5 separate regions of the Homo sapiens genome follow, and all the other regions are linked to region 3. Evidence: promoter capture Hi-C in 16 types of primary human blood cells and fetal thymus (Javierre and others, 2016). All regions are on one chromosome and are shown on one strand. The core of a region is centred on a gene start or on the middle of the fragment in contact, and the rest is flanking DNA. Distances in the headings are between cores, read along the strand shown.

The links. The method cuts DNA at HindIII sites, captures the fragments that hold promoters and counts their contacts. A CHiCAGO score of 5 or more calls a contact.
Region 1: the fragment with the promoter of SPRR2G here is called in contact with the fragment with the promoter of SMCP in region 3 in 6 of 17 cell types (M2 macrophages, M1 macrophages, endothelial precursors and 3 more); the score reaches 8.1 in M2 macrophages.
Region 2: a fragment that was not itself captured here is called in contact with the fragment with the promoter of SMCP in region 3 in 3 of 17 cell types (endothelial precursors, M2 macrophages and erythroblasts); the score reaches 7.2 in endothelial precursors.
Region 4: a contact is called between a fragment that was not itself captured here and the fragment with the promoter of SMCP in region 3, in 1 of 17 cell types (M2 macrophages). The highest score is 5.3, in M2 macrophages.
Region 5: a fragment that was not itself captured here is called in contact with the fragment with the promoter of SMCP in region 3 in 2 of 17 cell types (M0 macrophages and M2 macrophages); the score reaches 6.2 in M0 macrophages.

The regions. Positions count from the first base shown.
Region 1 is chr1:153,149,498-153,152,197 of GRCh38, forward strand. It overlaps SPRR2G (small proline rich protein 2G), which reads right to left and starts at 1,393. Exons shown (of 2, transcript NM_001014291.4): 1 at 1,355-1,393; 2 at 85-634. The coding sequence starts at 613. The coding sequence ends at 392. The HindIII fragment of the contact is 711 bases long and covers 1,333-2,043 here.
Region 2 is chr1:153,178,508-153,181,207 of GRCh38, forward strand. All of the region lies in intron 2 of LOC101928009 (a long non-coding RNA gene), which reads left to right. It also overlaps a transcript of SPRR2G not described here. Among named protein-coding and RNA genes, the nearest start is that of LELP1, 24 kb to the right of the region's middle. The HindIII fragment of the contact is 461 bases long and covers 1,190-1,650 here.
Region 3 is chr1:152,877,015-152,879,714 of GRCh38, forward strand. It overlaps SMCP (sperm mitochondria associated cysteine rich protein), which reads left to right and starts at 1,308. Exons shown (of 2, transcript NM_030663.3): 1 at 1,308-1,432. The HindIII fragment of the contact is 18,030 bases long and covers 1-2,700 here.
Region 4 is chr1:153,247,149-153,249,848 of GRCh38, forward strand. No RefSeq gene overlaps it. Among named protein-coding and RNA genes, the nearest start is that of LORICRIN, 11 kb to the right of the region's middle. The HindIII fragment of the contact is 3,114 bases long and covers 1-2,700 here.
Region 5 is chr1:153,298,727-153,301,426 of GRCh38, forward strand. It overlaps PGLYRP3 (peptidoglycan recognition protein 3), which reads right to left. Exons shown (of 8, transcript NM_052891.3): 7 at 387-505. Among named protein-coding and RNA genes, the nearest start is that of PGLYRP3, 13 kb to the right of the region's middle. The HindIII fragment of the contact is 1,569 bases long and covers 504-2,072 here.

The sequences.
Region 1 (2,700 bases), core at 143-2,642, 270 kb after region 3:
TAATTCAATAGGAATGAAAAGGAACATTCACTTGGTGTAGTTAACAGAAGAGGTTAAAGACACGAAATGCAAACAAAAGCAATGTGGGCTTGACCATGAAACATGTGCTTTATTGGGGAGAAGCAAAAGAATAAACACACTTGCTCTCAGGATAGGAACCACCATCTACATCACAGACAGCAAAGCGAGATTAGGCAGTGATCTGGCTGCTCATCTTCCAACAACATATCGGTTTTCAGAACTAAGCCTTTTCTCTGTCAACGCTCAAGCCAGACAGAGGTTAGGGAAGATGCAGCCTCCCACTACAGCTGAAGGGAAGATGATGGAGTCCTGGGAGTAAGAAGAGCCACTGGATCTTGTTGTTTCATGGTCCTGATGAATTCTAGTGATGTTACTTGCTCTTGGGTGGATACTTCTGCTGGCAGGGTGGGTATGGTTGCACAGGAGGGCATTTATCCTGGCATGGTGGAGGTGGGCAATGCTCAGGTGGACAAGGAGGAGGCAGGTAAGGCTCAGGGCACTTCGGGGGTGGACATGGCTCTGGGCACTTTGGCGTGGGGCACACAGGAGGTGGCTGGCAGGGCTGCTTGCACTGCTGCTGCTGGTAAGACATCTCTCCTCAGTCTCAGAGAATCTGAAAGATACATACGAAACAGTGCTCATAAGAGAGACAGTCCTGTTGGTGGAGCAATTAGCTAGGACATCAAATCTCCAGTATCTAGGGACCAACTTTGATCCCTAATACAGTCTTTATGACTTTGTGAACCTTCTTCACACTTCACTTTTAGGACCTCTTACCCTCAGTTCTTCCGTCTTTCTGGCTGTTCTCTCATTCTACCATTTTCTGAAAATAAAATTGCCTATGAGACAGCAACAAATGTTGTCTGAATACAAACACTATCTGAAGAAGAAAAACTCAGATATTAAAAGTCTAGCCAATACCAAACAAATCTGTGCTCTTATCTTCCATGAGGCCCTAGTTACCAGTTTTAATGAGCTGGCTGTGGTGCTGAGCCATGAGTTTTTTAAGAGAATTGCAAAAACTTGCACCCATCACCCAAGGAGATTGCACTCCAAGAGAGATGTATTTGGAACAGATGTGAAGCAGGAGACAGAACAGCATCTTGTGTCTCTCACTCTCCTTCAGTTTAAGATTTTATATATTTGACTCCAGGTTCCTCATCACCTTCATGTTTATCTACCAAATACCAGCTAAAATTTACCTTCAAGACCTCATTATCTTCTTTTTCCTATCCATGAGGATAAATTGGTTAAAATAAACAGGCATTTCTGTACCCAGGTTAGACCCTAACACCATCCAAGTGCAAGAAAAGCTTCTAATATTTGTACTCACCAGAGTCTTCAAAGATCTACAACTGAATGGCAAGAAGATAGCATCAGTGTGGTGGAGAGTCCTTTTATAAGGGGCAGGCAGCCCTACACAGGGAACAGCCCAGGACTAGCATGATGTGCTTATTTCCCAACCAAAATACCACTTGCATGTAATCCATGCTGGTATCACAAAATTCCTAGTCCATGATCCTCCCCAGCAGGATAAGTGCACAGTGATTCACTTGGGACATTATCTCAGGTTCCTCATGCCAGTGGCAATTGTAGAACGTGACAAATTGTCTGACAATTGTGGTGCTTCCCTATAATTAGAGATGGTGCTTCTCCTACTTCCCAGCTTCCAAAGTATCCTGTATGTAAAACTACTCCCATTCAGTTGCACATGCCCAGTATCTAGCTGTGTTCTCTTTAGTAGAGACCAGTATGTGCTGATCCTGCAGCCTGGCTATATCCTAACCCTCAACTGCAGTTTTTCTTTACAACTAACTTCCCCTTTTATCATGGCCTATTGATCCTTAGGCTTTTCTTGACAATTAATTGACTTGAACAGGGTGACAAAATCATATATCAGCTTCCTAGATGCTGACAGCCCCAACCTGGGTGTGTTCTGACATGGTATTAATGGGCTTGAACAAGGCAACATCATCTCTCAGTTTTCTAGGCCATTAGAGTCATGTTGGGGCCCCTTCTTAAAGCTTCACATTTGCAGATTTACACACTAACCTCATCTCTGTGGCCCTTGTAACTATGAGTGACTTGTGGTCTACTAGAAATCCAAACTCATCTTCTCCCATTTTCTTCCAAACTGCCTTAATGTATGTGCTGCATCCATTTTGAAGCTTTTCTCCTACATGCTAATTCAATTTACTCCTTCACAATTTCTCTCTTTTGAAATGACATTTAGTAGGATTTCAGGCTTTCTTTGCACATTCGAGGAGTGAAGTTCTGTAAAGCTATTTATCCTGCTGTTTACTTCATGGATGTTTTTACCTAAATAAGTAAAGTATAGCTGGCACAGATCCCACGGATAATTTCTTAGTATAGCTTATTTAACCATATTAACACTTCAGCTAGTATTACTCACTGTCCCAACTTGGAAAAAACTTGAGTACCTTGGTTATGCATACATCTACAGCCACCACTACTGTGTGGAACTAAATATTTCCTAACCTCCTTGAAACACAGTTTACACAGCTGTAAAACAGAAATAAAAAATACACCTACCACAAAAGTCTCCTACAAAAACTCAAAGAGTGGCCTAAAATTATGCACATTACATAGTGGGTCTTCTAAGAAATATAAACTCTAAAATGTAGAAGAAATAAGAATAATAACTAATCATAACTAACC
Region 2 (2,700 bases), core at 170-2,669, 300 kb after region 3:
AGTTTTATCCTCAATGCATGTTGAATTTTGTCAAATGCTTTCTCTACATCTATTCAGATGATATAATTTCTTCCTTTATTCAGTTAATTTGGTGAATTACATTTATAATATTAAATAAACCTTGCATTCTGTGACAAATCCTCTTAATATATTGCTAGACTCAATTTACTGATATTTTCTTAAGGATTTTTGCTTCTATGCTCCTGAGGAATAACGATCTGTAACTTTCTTTTCATTTAATGTCCTTGTCAAGTTTCAATATCAGGGCTACGTTAACCTGAAAAAGACTTGGTGAATATTCCCTCTTTCTCTGTTTTATGAAAGAAATTATGTATGATTGAAATTTTTATTTCTTAAGTGTGTGGTATAATTCACCAGTTAATCCTTTTGGACCTGGGGCATTCTATATGGGAAGGTTTTAAACTATGGGTTTTATTTCTGTAATAATTTTAGAGATTGTCTCAGTCAGGGTACAATGAGAGGAACAGAACCAGTTGGAAATGTACTTCAGAGATTTACTACAAGGACTCAATTTATGTGATTGCAAAGGCAGCTAGGCAAGTCTAAAATCCAGAAGTCAGGACATCAAGAGGGTAAGCTGGAACTCTGTCATAGGCTGAAGCTGTAATCCACACATATAATTTCTTCAGGGAAGATTTAGCTTGGCTTTTAAAGCCTTTCAACTGATTGAATCAGACCAGCCTGTATAAACTAGGATTTTCTCCCTTACTTAGAGTCAATTCATAATGGACTTTAATCACATCTACCTTCACAGCAACACCTAGATTAGTATTTGATTGAGTAACTAGGGACTGTCATGCAGCCAAGCTGACACGTCAAAAGACCATCACAGGGCTGTCAAGTTTTCATTTATGTGTTAGTTTTTTATTTTCAAGGAATTTGTGCTTTTCATCTAAGTTGTAGAATTCAATATGAAGTTGTTTATAATATCCACTCATTTTAAATATAACAATGTCACGCCTATCATTTGTGAAATGGTTTCATTTTTAAATATACAATATCATCGTGTGTGTGAAGGTACTCATGCCACAAACTAAATAAGGATAATAATGTTTGAAATAATGATAGTAGTCATAATAATAATTTTTAAGACCTAGGATTCATCTCTTATTCCTCTTTTCCTCACCTCCCACATACTACTTCTTCCTAGATCCCAAGTTCTGCCTTAAGCTTATTATCACTTCTCATCTTCTCATTATCTTCAATGTTCTTACCCTAATTAGAGCCACCATCACCCTCACCTGAACCACTGCAGAAGTTTCCTATCTTGTGTCCTGATTTCTATCTTGTCTCCGTATTCCTATCTTGTGCCACAGCAATCCCATATCAGAACAACCACAGCAATCATATAAAATATAGAGAAGATTATGTCCTCCCTAATTGAAATGATCAAATATCTTGCCATTGTATCTAGAGAAAAGTCTGAAGACCTTACTGTCCTACAAAGCACTTCATGCTGTGGCACTGACTCTTATGCTGACTTCATCATATCTTTCTTTCCTTGTTCACTAAGTTGCAGGAATATTGGCATTCTGGTGGCTTCCTTCCCTTTAAAGTAACCTTTTAACTGACTAAAATTGAAGTATAAATTAATAAAAGCTCACCAAGTACAGGTATACAACTTAATAAAGCTTCATAAGCTAAACAACCATGCAACCAATGCACAAATGAAGAAATAACATGTTACCAGCATCTCAGAAGCAGTCCACCTGGGAAGCAGGTTCTCAAAAGCAGTCCGAGTCACTACCAGCCCCCAAACATTAACTTTTTCCTGGCATCTAACACTGTACATTTGTTCTTCATGTTCTGAACTGTATATAAAGGGAATCATACAGTATGAACTCTTTGGTGCCTGGATTTTTTTTCCCCAAAATTGTGTTTGTGATACTGATTCATTTTCTGGTTTGTAGATATAGATCGTTGATTCTCATTGCTGTATGGTATTTCTCTATGAGAATATACTACCATTTATGCATCCATTTTATTGCTAAAAGGTATTTTAGTAGTTTCCAATTTGGAATTTTTAAAAATAGTGCTAATGTGAATATTTACGTATTTGTCCTTTTGTGACTATATGTACACACTTCTGTTAGGTACATACCTAGGAAAATATAATGACTGGGTCAGAGGATAGGGATATGCTCAGCTCTAGTGAATACTGTTAACTTTTCCAAATTCTTTCTACCATCTATTATTCCCATCAGCAGTGTGTGAAAGTTTCAATTGCTCCACACTCTGTCTAAACTTGGTATTGTCTATCTTTTTTCGTGTTAGCCATTTCGGTGGCTATGTGGAGATAACACGTTGTGACTTGAATTTGCATTTCTCTTATGAATGGTGAGATTAAACTCTTTATTATATGTTTATTGGAAATACAGAAATGCCCTTTCATGAATTGCCTGTTCAGGTTGTTCAGATATTTTTCTATTTGCTCATTTCTTGTTTTTTTGTTGATCTGTGAGTAGGAACACATGTGTATATATGTTCTGGGAACAAGCCCTTTGTTAAATATAGATATTACATACAGCTTCTCCATCTCTGTGGCTTGGCATTTTGCAATCTTGGTGGTGTTTTTGATAATCAGAAATTTTTAATTTTAATGAAATCCAATTTGTCATTTTTCCACCTTATTGGTATGCTTTTTATTACCTGATTAAGGAATCTTTCCTATTGACAAGA
Region 3 (2,700 bases), core at 58-2,557:
CTGGCTCTCCTCCAGCCATGACCCACCCCCATAGGATGATTCAATAGGTCCAGGGTACAGGCCCAGAGCTGCTGTCTCTCTCACTCCAGCTATCCAGGACCCCAGAAATCTCTGTCAACTGGCCCTGAGATCACCTTTATGTGTCTATCCTCTTGAAGACTCAAACAGCCAATACTGTGCTCACTTCTAGGTCTCAATGACCAAGAGAGGGGCAGTTTGAGAGATCCATGTATGAAAAGAACATGGACGGTATGGACTAGGATATTTACACTCATGCACGCCCGAGGTCCCTCGTGACACAAGATGAAGCCAGGGAGTAGGAAGAGAACCAGGGGTGAACCACAGGGGTCAGAAGCCTCTGTTTGTGCTCTTGCCTGGTGTCCTACAAATGTTTATGGCAGGCATGCTTCCCAGAAGAACAGAATTTCCTAGTCACTGTCCTCAAAGAGGCCATGCTACAGGAAGAAAAGGAAAGAGTAAACATAATGAAATGCTTCTCTCTTATCATTATTTTAGTCAATTCACTATTCAATTGATTCAGTTTCAGAATCTTTTATGTGCCAATTGCTCAGCCAGACACTGGGAATATCAAAGTGAATAAAATAGGGTCCTGGCCCCTAAGGCATCCCAGTTTCTCCCCTGTTTAAAACCTTTCAGTGGTTCCCATTGTCCTCAGGATAAAGTCCAAACTCTTTTTCTTATGGCATAAAGGTCCTCACCAACACAGCCTTACCTACCTAGGTAGGTGAATCTCCCCCTTCTCCTTACTCCCCACTCTGCTCCAGCCACACTGAGCTTTTCCACCAAATAGCCTATACTTTCACATTTCTGGATCTGAAAATGTCCTCCCAGACACACCCCTATGTCCAACTTCCTATTTCCAATTTCCAAGTCTCAGCTTAAATATCACTCCCTCCAGGAAGCATATCTGACCCCCAAACCTGACCCCTGTGCTTATCCTACCATCATTATTATCACATGGTATTGTTGGCTATTGACTTGCCTCCATATTGAATTAGATCTTTGAGAATGGGAACTACATCCCATTGAGCTACACTTCACTTTTTAGGACAGAGCCTGGTAGATAGGAGACAATCAATACAGATTTGTGTTTTAGGTTATTGCATGCTTATGGGTTAGCTAGGGAGCTTTCTTTTTATCTTTCAGGAAAGAAACCAAAGAGACAGACTCTCCAGCAGGCAGGGGGCGCCAGTGAGTGAGCTAGGCATAGAGTCTTGTGGAGAGAATTATGGTGTCATAGAGGCTTAGAATCTTGGCATTAGCAGGGAAGGGAACCCATCTGGTTCAGAAGGCTTTGGCTTCTGATAGTCATGGACTCACTAGGCTGCTGAGGAAGATCAATAATACCTACTGGAATCAGTCATGAGAAGTCAAGCATGGAAATTGTGAATTGTGTGTGTGGCCAGACCAGGTAACACAGAGAAACATTGTCTTTTGGGTCCTCTCTCCATGGCTTTTTCATGTGTTCATTAGTTCATTACGTATTTACCTACTGAGACCCATGCAATGCCATTCAGTGTGTTGGATGAGAGGATTCCAGGATTCATCCTATCTTTCAGGAAAAAGCTCCTGCTTCTATTTAAGAGGAAGACATGGGAGCCACTGGGGGTGGGGATAGTGAGAATGCCTGTGTTTATGGAACTAACAGACCACAAAAGTGAGACAATTGGGAAAATAATAACCACTATAAAAATGTAATGGGAAGTACAGGGGATCCAAGAAAGCCTTTCAGGGAGATGGAGGTTTTGGGTTAAGGAAGTTTTCCTCGAGGAGTGATGTGTAAGCAGAGACTTCAGGTTTGAACGATATTCAGTGAGCATGTGGGGACAGAGACCCAGGAAGGGTGGTTTAAGCTGGGAAAGAGCACATTCAAAGACCTGGAAAGAGGTGAGAAAATTCAGCAGGTGTCTGCTCTGAGCCAGTCTGGTGCCTGAGGGAACAGTGTTTGGACATGAGGCTGGGCCTGTGGGCAGAGGGAGAAGGTGCCTTGCCAGAGCCCTCCTGGTGGTTTGGGCTCTGTATCAATCCTCTCTGAATAGAGCAATAAGAGCTAGGAAGATGGCCCTGGCCTTGCACCACAAGTGTTTGACATGATTAGGCAGATTTCCTGAGGCAGGCTGTGCACAGCATGGTTGGGAAGGAAGGGAAATGGAGCTTGGAGAGAATATTTATTTATTTGTTTGTTTCTTTTTATTTATTTATTGAGATGGAGTCTCACTCTGTCACCCAGGCTGGAGTGCAGTGGTGAGGTCTCGGCTCACTGTAACTTCTACCTCCCGGATTCAAGTGATTCTCCTGCCTCAGCTTCCCAAGTAGCTGGTATTACAGGTGCACGCCACCACACCCAGCTAATTTTTGTATTTTCAGTAGAGATGGAGTTTTGCCATGTTGGCCAGGCTGGTCTCAAACTCCTGACCTCAAGTGATTCACCCGTCCCAGCCTCCCAAAGCGCTGGGACAACAGGTGTGAGCCATTGTGCCCGGCCAAGGAGAGAATCTTAAGAAGAAACTCTTGCAGGAGGCAGAGGGGTCCAGGAGGCAGGTTTGTTGGACAGGAGCCAGGGTTCTGAAAGTGGAGGATATAGATACTATTCACCAGGCAGAAGGAAGACAGTGGAGACAGCACTGGCTCAGAGGGGCAGGACCTGCATCCATGGGGGTGAGGTTGCAGAAGGACTTG
Region 4 (2,700 bases), core at 46-2,545, 370 kb after region 3:
CCTTTCCTCATGAAGGTTACAGTCCTATCAAAGCTAGAAGAAACATGGAGATCAGCTAGCCCAGTCCACTCACTGTATAGCTGAGGAAACTGAGCTGCCCAACATTGCACGAAACCTAGTCCTTGTCCCATTGAGCTAGAATGTGTGTTCCACAAAGGCAGGGAATTTTTTGTCTGTTTTGTCTCTGTCTAGAGCAATGTGTGACAACTAGACAGCTCTCAGAAAATATTTGCTGATGCTGATGTTGACACAGAATTGTATCACACCGGACAGCAGGATTGTGGAAAACATGGGCTTTGGAGTCAGACAAATCCAACTGTAGTCCTGGCTCAGTTGCTTTTGACCGTGTGACCTTGGCAGGTTATTTGTGCTCCTCACACCTCACTTTTGTTATCTATGATATGTGGATAACAGTGCTACAGAATGTGGTGAGGTTCCAACATGGAGAAACACCCAACATAGCACCTGGAACATAGGATGTGCTCAATAAATGGTAGTTATCACTGCTAGTAATAGTATTAAGTACCGAGTGACTGACTCAGAGAAGAACTTGGGAGAGAACTGAACAAAAGGGGCAAAGCTAGCCAGACCCCCCAATCCAATATCAACCATGAAGGCAAACCCACGAGAGAAAATCTGCCCCTGAAATAGTTCCTCTATGCACTCCCCACCCCTTCTCCCTCATTGACACCTGACACTTTATCACTGAGCTTCATCCTTTCCATTATAATTCTGACTCTTTTAACCTATCACTCCCTGAATAGAGAAGACCCACTTTAAATCAGATGCCCACACTCTAATTTAAATGAATTGTACAATCTTTCCTTGAGTTCAACTAGCAGTGTTTAATCAAATACTGACTGTTTTCCAATGGCTTTCCCATATAATAGATCTTGTTTAATCTGCACAGCATCCTCAAAACATAGGCAAATCAAAGATATTTTACACATGAAGATATAGGATCAGAAAGGCTAAGCGGCACACTTGCAGTGTCACAGCTGGCAAATGATATAACCAAGATTCCGCCTCAGATCCTCTGACATCAATTCAGTCACCAAAGTCTCACCAAGACCCAGGAACAATTTCAATAATGAGCTAGTAGCAGAATGACAGAGGCTCAGGCATCCCCTGCTGAAGGAAGTCACAACAGCCTCCCCCTTCTATCATGAAAGCTAAATAAATCAGCTTGAATTTCAGTTTCTCAGGGTCTTTAATTTTCTGGGTTCCTCTGAGATCTCAGCCTGGGAGAGCTGAGATGTCTCAGCTGCTTGCATCTCAAGCAGCCAGTGCAATGCCTAGCCCAGCCCACAGCAAATGCTGGTAGAATGAATGGATGAACAAATAAACTCTTCCACATCTGCCTACTTCTGGAATTGTTACTGACCTAGATATTAGACGCTTTGGCCTGGGTGGGGAGGATATTAACCCCTAGGATGAGGGGCTCCAAGGACACACTGCCTGCTTCACAGGGTGCCTCTGGCTGCGTCCAAAGACAATGCTCTGGGCCAGCTCCTGAGTCTAGAGTGGCCCACAGTTCCAACGCTGTGTTTCAGCAGGGAGACAGACCCACTCTCACACTTGCGAACCCTCCCCCTACCCTTAGGTGAATGTGGGGGCAGAACTCCTGCACCACAAGTGTTCATTTTCCAGGAGGACATGTGGAACTCTCCAAAGGGAAGAAGCAGGACCCGTGCTTTTAACCTAGTGTTTCCTAAACCTCAGTAATTCACATACCTCCTTGGTAGTTTTTCCCATATTCATGAACCACTTGTATGATTATTTATTCAACACTTTTCTCTGGATGAACTCACAATTTTTACTTAACCAGATTTATTTTTGAAGATATACTACCACGGTGTTACCTTCTTTTACCTCATCCTAAGCAATGATACCCATAAAATAAATCTGAAGTGCTTACTGTGTACACATTAAAAGAAATATATTTTCTATTTTAATGTATAGCTATCAGAATAAGGAGGCTTTTTAACTCACTAGCAGAAAGCACACTTCGCTTTACGTAACTCTTCTGCAATCCATATAGGATCCAGCAGGGATTATGTGGAGTAAAATGTCCTAATTAATCACTGAGAGCAATTATACACCATGAATAATTTAATCATGCATCAACATCACAGTCATGTTGATAATGCAATAATACCAATAATCCAAAAACCTGTGCTGACATCCACTTTAAAACTTCTAGTATGCTATAATCTCTATTATCTCTCCCTTTTGGAGCCAAACAGGCCTTATAATTTCTTGGAGTTGCCAGAATTTGATCACAGAGCCCAGAGTGGGGTAGGGAGAGATATTATTCTGACTAGACTCAAACCAGCACTGTTACAAATCTTGAAACAACTCCTCTGTCCTCCCTACCTCCCTTTTCTGTCTCCCTCTTTCTATTCTCTGCATCATTCTTTCTTTCCTTCTTTTTCTTTAAACAAACACTGACTCACTGCCTGGTGTATCCACGGACTCCAGGTTTACTAAGAGCTGCAATGCCATCCCTGCCTTCCAGGAGCAAACAATCTTGTTGGGGAGGTGAAAATAGGGCAAAGACTTAATATTGTCCCCACCCAGGCCAAAACATCTAATACCCAGGTCAGTAACAATTCTAGATGTGGGAAGATGTGAAAGAGTGCATTCATTCATCCATTCATTCTACCAGCATTCATTGTGGGCTGGGCTAGGCATTGCACT
Region 5 (2,700 bases), core at 38-2,537, 420 kb after region 3:
ACAGCACCACTGGGCCGCCCACTGGTTTTCCATAACAGGCAGTGGTGCTCCCCAAATTGTTGCCATGGCTAACAAGAAAGGGGACACATTTGCCAACTGAGCGATAAAAGCACTGAAGTTTGCAAAAGACGTTTCCCCCCTTGCTCCATGTTTGCCTTGGATATAAAGCAAGGTGGAGCTGGGCATGGGGATGGGTGGATTTGGGGGTAAATGCTCTGTCTGAAAGGGGATCCTGGTGACATCCTGTATTAAGAGTCCACTTTAAAGCTAAAATGTTCCATTCACACTGCCAGGCACTACAGGGCTGCCTTTCCCGCCATGCTTCCCAGACATGCTGCATGGTCCTTCAACCCCCAGCACCCCTCTACCCCATGCTCACCCCTTACCTACAAAGTAGCCGATGAAGGCAATTCCTAGGGCAATATCGTTGAATCCATAAGTGTGAGAGCCTTGGATGTGCCATCCAACCCCTTCATACACGCCACCATCCTGGCCCACCAGGAAGCTTAGGTCAGGAAAAGAAAATGAAGACAGTCACTCTGGGAAACAGAATTTAAATACTTCATTCACTCCTTCAACCACTCATTCATTCTTTCATCCATTCATCCAATATTGACTGGAGATCTCTTATGTGCCAATGTGGACAAGGACAGAAAACAAAACAAAACAAAAAAATACCACAGTCCACTTCAACCTGGCCTTTGTTCCCATCACACCACTAAATCTGACCCCTCCAAGGTGAGCAGTGGCTTCCTGGCACTAAGTACAATGGACACTTACTTTACTTCTAGACTACACTGACCCTGTTGACCACTCTCTTAAAATGTTCCCTTCCCCGGGCTTCCACAACCACAACCCTCCTTGTTCTCCTCCTCCTGCTGCTCCCTCAGGCCCCTCTCCCACCCCACCTTACCTTCCTCAAACATGGTGCTCCTCCGCACTCTAGTCTAGGCCATTCTCTCACTCAACGTATTCACCCTGGACAATCATTGCCACAGCTTCAAGTACTACCTGTAAAAACAGTCCAAGCAAACCCACCTTCTTCTAAAATTTATCCAGCTAGAAAATTGGACAACACCCTGAATGCCTTCTACCCCCTCACTCAGCCCACCTGGTCACCAATCATGGCTTGTCAATTGTATCTCCTACACAGCTTCTAAATTCCTCCACTTCTTTCTAGACCAACTGCCACGATCCCACTGCAAGTCACTGGATCACTGCAATAGCTTCCTGCCCAGAGTTTTGCCTCCTTCCAACCCATTCTTAAAGTAGCACCCAGAGTGATTTTTCTAAAATACAAATCCTATCATAGAGCATGACCTCCCAAATAGTCTGCAGCTGCCTTTCAAATTGAGTCAGTCTCTCTGAGTCTGCTATGAGGCCCTCCGTGATGTGGCCCCTCCCAGGCTTTCCCACCCTTACTACTCACCACTCCTCTCTTTCAAATCTATTTGTAATGCTCTGTCTGAACCCCGGGCCCTGGCAAATACTGTTCCTCCTCACCCAGACACTCTTCCTCCTTCTTTGCCTGAATAAACCCCACTGCTTATCCATGTCCCAATGAGGATACTCCTCCCTCTAGAAGCCATTCTCAGACCCCAATCACCCCCCACAAAGCCTTGATTAGAGACTCATCATATACATTATCCTGTTCTGCATCCATCACAGTGCTCAAACACTTTGACTTGTAGTTACTTGTTAGCCCTCCTTCTCTCATATCTATCAGTGAAAGTTGTCAGAATCAAAATGGAGTCACTTGTGTCAAACTCTAACAAAAATAAATAAAGCCAGGAGGTTGAAAAGGGTGGACCCTCATGCACACAAGCCTACAATAAGAACTAGCACAAAGACTCTCTGAAGGACTCTTACGCACACAAGCCTGTAACAAGAACTTTTGCCAAAAACTTTCAAAACTGCAGCTTGTTACTAGTCACAAGGACATCTGGCTGATGAAGAACACTTGCCCAGCACACTGTCTCCACTAATGAACTGGTGTCACCTCCCGCGATAAGTTCCAATGTTCTCCAGTGTTCCCTTTATTTCAAAACAAACTTTTGCCTTTTGCCTTTAAAAGCTTCCCCTAGCCTGAACCTCTTTGGATATGCCTGTGGTTCCTGTAGCATGCATATCCCAGATTTGCAAATTCCCTTTACACTCTCAAATAAAATACTTATCTTTATTCTCTTGCTTTTGTTTTTGTCTTTTTCAGACAGGGTCTCACTCTGTTGCTCAGGCTGAAGGGCAGTGGCACAACCATGACTCACTGCAGCCTCAAACTACTAGGCTCAAGCGATCCTCCGTTTCAGCCTTCCAAGTAGTTGGGACTGACTACAGGTATACATGTCACCACACCCAGCTAATTATTTTATTTTTTTGAAGAGATGGGGTCTCCCTATGTTGCCCAGGCTGATCTCAAACTCCTGACCTCAAGCAATCCTTCCGCCTCGGCCTCCTAAAATGCTGAGATTATAGGCATGAGCCACCGTGCCTGGCCAAATTAATCATCTTTGGAGAATCTCTCTCTGTTTGTTGTTAGATTGATATATCTCGTCTAGCACCAGGCATATAGTAGCTATCCAATAACTATTGATTAAAAAACTAGAAAATAATGTGTGAGTGGGTGCTTTGTCCTGATTACAGTCCATATCAGGGTTACAGGTGACATATCATGAGGCTGGAGCAGAAGGATATTGCAACAGG